2 separate regions of the Homo sapiens genome follow, and region 2 is linked to region 1. The links are contacts of gene promoters, found by promoter capture Hi-C in human tissues and cell types (Jung and others, 2019). All regions are on one chromosome and are shown on one strand. The core of a region is centred on a gene start or on the middle of the fragment in contact, and the rest is flanking DNA. Distances in the headings are between cores, read along the strand shown.

Region 1 (3,222 bases), core at 1-2,500:
CCCAAAGCTGGGCACTTCCCAATTCCGGGATTTGTGCTACAGGCACTCCAGGCTCCACCTTAGAACTGTGTCCAGCACGAAGGCAGTGCTGTCTTGCGGGAGGCAGGGCTGCACCACCACCGGGGTGTGAAGGGGCCCAGCAGGCAGGGGTGTGAAGGGGCCCAGCAGTGTTTCCAGCTGCACGGGGTCAGGGGCCGCGCTGATGCAGAGCACGGGGGCGCAGGTTAAACCTAAAGGAGGGAAGCTTTTGGGGGCGGAACAGACAACCGAGAATGCTGCACACTGCCTTTCCCACCCGAATTGTGTTTTGACTTTTTTTTTTTTTTTTTTTTGAGACAGAGTTTTGCACTTGTTGCCCAGGCCTGGAGTGCAATGGCCCGATCTCGGATCACTGCAACCTCCTCCTCCCGGTTTCAAGCAATTCTCCTGCCTCAGCCTCCCGAGTAGCTGGGATTACAGGTGTGCACCATCACGCCCGGTTAGTTTTGTATTTTTAGTAGATACGGGGTGTCTCCCAATTGGCCAAGGCTGGTCTCGAACTCCCGACTTCAGGTAATCCACTGGCCTTGGCCTCCCAAAGTGCTGGGATTACAGGCGTGAGCCACCGCGCCCGGCCTGCTTTTGCTTTCTTTTTTTTTTTTTTTTTTTTGGCAGAGTCTCGCTGTCCACCCCTGTAGTGCAGTGAGCTCGGCTCCCTGCGGCCTTGACCTCCCGGGCTCAGGCAATCCTCCCGCCTCAGCCCACGGAGTAGATGGGACCACAGGAGCCCACCACGCCCGACTACTTTTTGTAATTTTTGTAGGGATGGGGTCTATCCATGCTGCCCAGGCTGGTCCGAACTGCTGGGCTCAAGAGCTCCGCCCGCCTCCGCCTCCCAAAGGGCAGGGATCACAGGTGTGAGCTACCGCGCCCCGCCCAGAGTTTCCGACTGTTAGCAAATCACATTCACCTCAAAACTATTTATACAAGAACTGAAAGGCAAACTAAGTCCGTGCTCCATCACTTCCTGTCCCAGGTCGCGGGGCCGGACATTTTCTCCAAGCGCTTTCCTGGCACAGCGCGCAGGCGGCCTGCGCCAAAGCTCTGGCTTCCTCCAGGCGCCCAGACCCCGCCCTCCCCGCAGGCGCCAGGGCGTTGCCTGGCAACTTAGCTGCGAGGGGATTGGCTGCGCGGGACCCCGTGACCATCCCGGAGACCACGCATTTCCTGCGCCCCCGGAAGTGGTGATAATGCCAGGCCCTGCCCCCGGCAGAGGCGGAAGCGGAGTCGGCCTGAGAGGTCTCTCGTCGCTGCAGGCGCCTCAGCCCAGCCGCGTGCCTTGGCCCATGGCCGCCTACTCTTACCGCCCCGGCCCTGGGGCCGGCCCTGGGCCTGCTGCAGGCGCGGCGCTGCCGGACCAGAGCTTCCTGTGGAACGTTTTCCAGAGGTGCGGCCTGGCACCGCCCGGGCACCTCCCGCCTCCGCCGCGGCGGCCCCGACCCCTGTCCCGACTCCCCCGACCAACCCCGTTCCCTGCCGGTTCTACTGCGGCCTCCTCCGTCCCCTGTCGGGTCCCCCGCGGCCCCCTCCCGTCCCCTGCCGCCGCCCCCGACCCCTGCCCCAGCCGACGCGGCCGCCCCCGTCCCCTGGCGGGTCCCCCGCGGTCTCCCCCGTCCGCTGCCCGGTCTCCTGGGGCCGCCCCTGCCTCCTGCCCGGTCCCTGTCCTGTGCGTCGGGCCCTTCCCAAGATGCAGAGTGCGCCACTGCAGACCCGAGGTCGCGGCCACCGGCTCCTGGGCTAGGCCCTTTTTCTCGCCTCAAGAGCCGCCAGGTGGAGGGTCTCCAGGGTGCTTGTTTGGGGAAAGCGGAAACAGACTGCCTGGGCGCTGTTAAAATGTCAGCAGCCAAGGAAGAAGCAGCGACCTGGCGTCTGCTCGGGCCAGGTGACCTTTATGGCGGCGCCTTCTGTCCCTGGTCGCTTTTCCACCGAATGTCCGAAACTGTAGTGACTGATGGCCAGGGAATGGCTTAGTTATCTGAGGGAATCTTGTCTTGTCTGTGAAAAAGGGAAACGGGTGCAAATGGGAATTCAGACAGGCCAGGAGAGGAAGGAAGGGAAGGATTGAGGTGAAGATGATTGTCCTCTTAGGGGAAGACCACACTGGACGTCGGCTCCTGGGGCACTTCCTTGATTCCGCTGTACTCCTCAGCGGGACGGGAGAGGCGGAGGTTCCAGGAGGGAGCCTTCCAGAGTCGGTGCAGGGTTGACAGAAGACGTTTGTTTTGCTTTTCCTGAACTTTCGATCGCCAGCTTATTTGGTCTTCTTGATGTTATAGGGTCGATAAAGACAGGAGTGGAGTGATATCAGACACCGAGCTTCAGCAAGCTCTCTCCAACGGTGAGTGGGCCAGTGGGAACTGGGTCTCCGGACCAAGAAGCCGCGAGCCTGCCCTGTTCACAGTGGATAACTTTCTGAAGTTGTTTTTCCAAGGACAAAGGAATCATTAGGACAAATTGTTATTACTGCTTCGTAGTGGAGATGCTTCTGGTTTATTTTGTGGCTACCGCTGTTACTGCTTGGAGTGCCTCACCGAGCCAGCTAACAACTGCGTGCGTGAGCACAGGGAAAGGCTTCTTGAGAAATGAAAACTAGATTGTAGGTTTAGGAGGGGAATAGGAAGCTTAGCTCTGTACAGCCGAAAGCCTTTTGGTAAGTTGGAGGTCCTTGAATTTCCTGGGTGACTGCATCTTGGTGACTTCTCTGAATAGACCTTCGAGGGCACTGGGGGGTGATTGTTGGAGGGCTTGGGGAGCTCAGGCAGCCCTTGTATGGGAATGTGGCTGTTACAGGAACTGCAGAAACTGGGACTGGGTTCCTGGGGAAAGGATTGGGGGTGTTGGAGGCGCTGGCCAGGGGATTATGGGGAGGTGTTCTTATCAGTGTGCGAATACTGGGCGTTCAGGCAGCGGGAAATCCGGGTCCTTGCGTGTTGTGAGCTCCCTGGAATTACGTTCTTGCCAGTTTCAGCTCAGTTGATCCCCCTCCCCTCCGCTATCATTGGACACATTTTACTTCATTGAAACCTGACTGCCACTTTTTCTGTAATCCCTCAGGGGCAGTCATCTTTTCTGATTCTGTGTATAGTTTGCTTTTCCAGATCCGTGCCATTTAAGCTAGAAAAGGGGTCAGTTTTGAGATGTTGTGAAAATGTTGAAAGGCTTCTTGTTATTAGTGGGAAGTAT
Region 2 (3,129 bases), core at 393-2,892, 1.4 Mb after region 1:
ACTACAAGGCTACAGTAACCAAAACAGCATGGTACTGGTACCAAAACAGAAATATAGACCAATGGAACAGAATAGAGGCCTCAGAAATAATACCACACATCTACAACCATCTGATCTTTGACAAACCTGACAAAAACAAGCAATGGGGAAAGGATTCCCTATTTAACAAATGGTGCTGGGAAAACTGGCTAGCCATATGTAGAAAGCTGAAACTGGATCCCTTCTTACACCTTATACAAAAATTAATTCAAGATGGATTAAAGACTTAAATGTTAGACCTAAAACCATAAAAACCCTAGAAGAAAACCTAGGCAATACCATTCAGGACATAGGCATGGGTAAGGACTTCATGTCTAAAACACCAAAAGCAATGGCAGCAAAAGCCAAAATTGACAAATGGGATCTAATTAAACTAAAGAGCTTCTGCACAGCAAAAGAAACTACCATCAGAGTGAACAGGCAACCTACAGAATGGGAGAAAATTTTTGCAATCTCATCTGACAAAGGACTAATATCCAGAATCTACAAAGGACTCAAACAAATTTACAAGACAAAAACAACCCCATCAAAAAGTGGGCAAAGGATATGAACAGACATTTCTCAAAAGAAGACATTTATGCAGCCAACAGACACGTGAAAAAATGCTCTTCATCACTGGCCATCAGAGAAATGCAAATCAAAACCACAATGAGATACCATCTCACACCAGTTAGAATGGCGATCATTAAAAAGTCAGGAAACAACAGGTGCTGGAGAGGATGTGGAGAAATAGGAACACTTTGACACTGTTGGTGGGACTGTAAACTAGTTCAACCATTGTGGAAGTCAGTGTGGCGATTCCTCAGGGATCTAGAACTGGAAATACCATTTGACCCCACCATCCCATGACTGGGTATATACCCAAAGGACTATAAATCATGCTGCTATAAAGACACATGCACACGTATGTGTATTGCAGCACTACTCACAATAGCAAAGACTTGGAACCAATCCAAATGTCCATCAATGATAGACTGGATTAAGAAAATGTGGCACATATACACCATGGAATACTATGCAGCCATAAAAAATGATGAGTTTATGTCCTTTGTAGGGACATGGATGAAGCTGGAAACCATCATTCTCAGCAAACTATCGCAAGGACAAAAACCCAAACACTGCATGTTCTCACTCACAGGTGGGAATTGAACAATGAGAACACTTGGACACAGGAAGGGGAGCATCACACACCAGGGCCTGTTGTGGGGTGGGGGGAGAGGGGAGGGATAGCATTAGGAGATATACCTAATGTAAATGACGAGTTAATGGGTGCAGCACACCAACATGGCACATGTATACCTATGTAACAAACCTGCACGTTGTGCACATGTACCCTAGAACTTAAAGTATAGTAATAATAATGATAATAAAAATCATGTTTACAAGCAAAAGCCACCCTCCAACCTTCTGTCATAGGCGTTTTAATCGTGTGAGGTTTCTAGCCCACGGGCGCCTCTCTCCAGCCCATGGCTCTCTGAGGCAGAAGCAGCCTTCCACTTTCCAAGGTAATGGCACCACCACCCTGCTTGGTGCCCACCAGCATCTCCCTGTCACTCGAAAGACAGTGTCCAAACCCCTGCCTGTTACCCCAGGCCCTGTGGGTCTATCCCGGCAGCTCACCAGCTGTGGCCTCCTCAGACAGCCTCCTTTCCCCCAAATCCCAGCCTCAGTCCCTCGGATGCTTCCAGGTGGGAAGGCTCTGGCAGGCTCCAGGAGGAGCAGATAGAACTTGGGTGATCAGCCACCGGGCGTGGTGGCTCATGCCTGTAATCTCAGCACTGTGGGAATCCGAGGCGAGCAGATCACTTGAGATCAGGAGTTTGAGACCAGCCTGGCCGACATGGCGAACCCTGTCTCTACCAAAAATACAAAAAAAAAAAAAAAAAAAAAATTAGCTGGGCGTGGTGGCCTGCACCTGTAATCCCAGCTACTTGGGAGGCTGAGGCATGAGAATCACTTGAACCCAGCAGGCAGAGGTTGCAGTGAACTGGGATTGCACCACTGCACTCCAGCCTGGGTGACAGACTGAGACTGTCTCAAAAATAAAAGGTGATCAGGAAGTTCTTGTTTTTGCTTTTTGTTTTTCCCCCTGTGGAATCCTTTGCTCTGCAAAACAGGTGAGCGTTTCTTTGGTGGGGCGCTCAGCTCCCCCACCCCCCCCAGAACTGCTGATCCCACCCTCATGTCTGCATTCTTGAGGTGGTCCTGAGACGTGGCTTTGAAAAACACTGCTTGGGCTGGGTGCAGTGGCTCATGCCTGTAATCCCAGCACTTTGGGAGGCCAAGGTGGGAGGACTACCTGAGGTCAGGAGTTCAAGACCAGGCTGGTCAACATGGTGGAACCCTGTCTCTACTAAAAATACAAAAATTAGCTGGGCGTTGTGGTGCATGCCTGTAATCCCAGCTACTTGGGAGGCTGAGGCAGGAGTATCGCTTGAACCCAGGAGGCAAAGGTTGCAGTGAGCCAGGATTACACCACTGCACTCCAGCCTGGGCAACAGAGTGAGACTCCATCTCAAAAAAAAAGGAAAGAAAAAGAGAAACACTGCTTGAAACAAGAAAGGAACACAAAGATTAAAAGCTTAGAATTTTCCATAAACCTTTTGGCCACTTATATGTCTTCTGTTGAGAAATGATCTTTTGTCTACTTTCTATGGGATTATTTATTTATCTATTTTTTTCTGTTGTTTGATTTCCTTGTGTATTCTGGATATTGGCCCCAAAAAGCAAGCGAAAAAATGCTCAACATCATGAATCATTGGGGAAATGCACATCAAAACCACAATGAGGTATCATCTACCCCAGTTCAGATGGCTTTAATTAAAAACAAAAACCATAACAAATGCTGGCGAGGATGTGGAGAAAGGGGAACCATACACACTGTAGGTGGGAATGTAAATGAGTACAGCCGCTATGGACAACAGGATTGAGTTCTTAAAAAATTAAAAATAGAGCTACCCTATGATCCAGCCATCCCCGCTGATGGGTATTTATCCAAAGGAAAGGGAATCCTGTGTGAAAGGGAATCTGGGCCCCCCTGTTTACTGCAGCACTGTTCACAATGGCAAAGATATGGAATCAACCTAGGTG

What was found. The method cuts DNA at HindIII sites, captures the fragments that hold promoters and counts their contacts. A contact is called where the count stands out against the background at its distance.
Region 2: a fragment that was not itself captured here is called in contact with the fragment with the promoter of PDCD6 in region 1 in 1 of the 25 tissues and cell types used here (heart right ventricle).

The regions. Positions count from the first base shown.
Region 1 is chr5:270,396-273,617 of GRCh38, forward strand. It overlaps PDCD6 (programmed cell death 6), which reads left to right and starts at 1,251. Exons shown (of 6, transcript NM_013232.4): 1 at 1,251-1,426; 2 at 2,316-2,377. The coding sequence starts at 1,326. It overlaps PDCD6-DT (PDCD6 divergent transcript), which reads right to left and starts at 1,129. Exons shown (of 2, transcript NR_104613.1): 1 at 950-1,129. It overlaps PDCD6-AHRR (PDCD6-AHRR readthrough (NMD candidate)), which reads left to right and starts at 1,251. Exons shown (of 13, transcript NR_165163.2): 1 at 1,251-1,426; 2 at 2,316-2,377. RefSeq lists enhancers at 1-292, 954-1,043 and a silencer at 1,334-1,543. The HindIII fragment of the contact is 6,729 bases long and covers 1-3,222 here.
Region 2 is chr5:1,646,184-1,649,312 of GRCh38, forward strand. No RefSeq gene overlaps it. Among named protein-coding and RNA genes, the nearest start is that of MIR4277, 61 kb to the right of the region's middle. The HindIII fragment of the contact is 6,612 bases long and covers 1-3,129 here.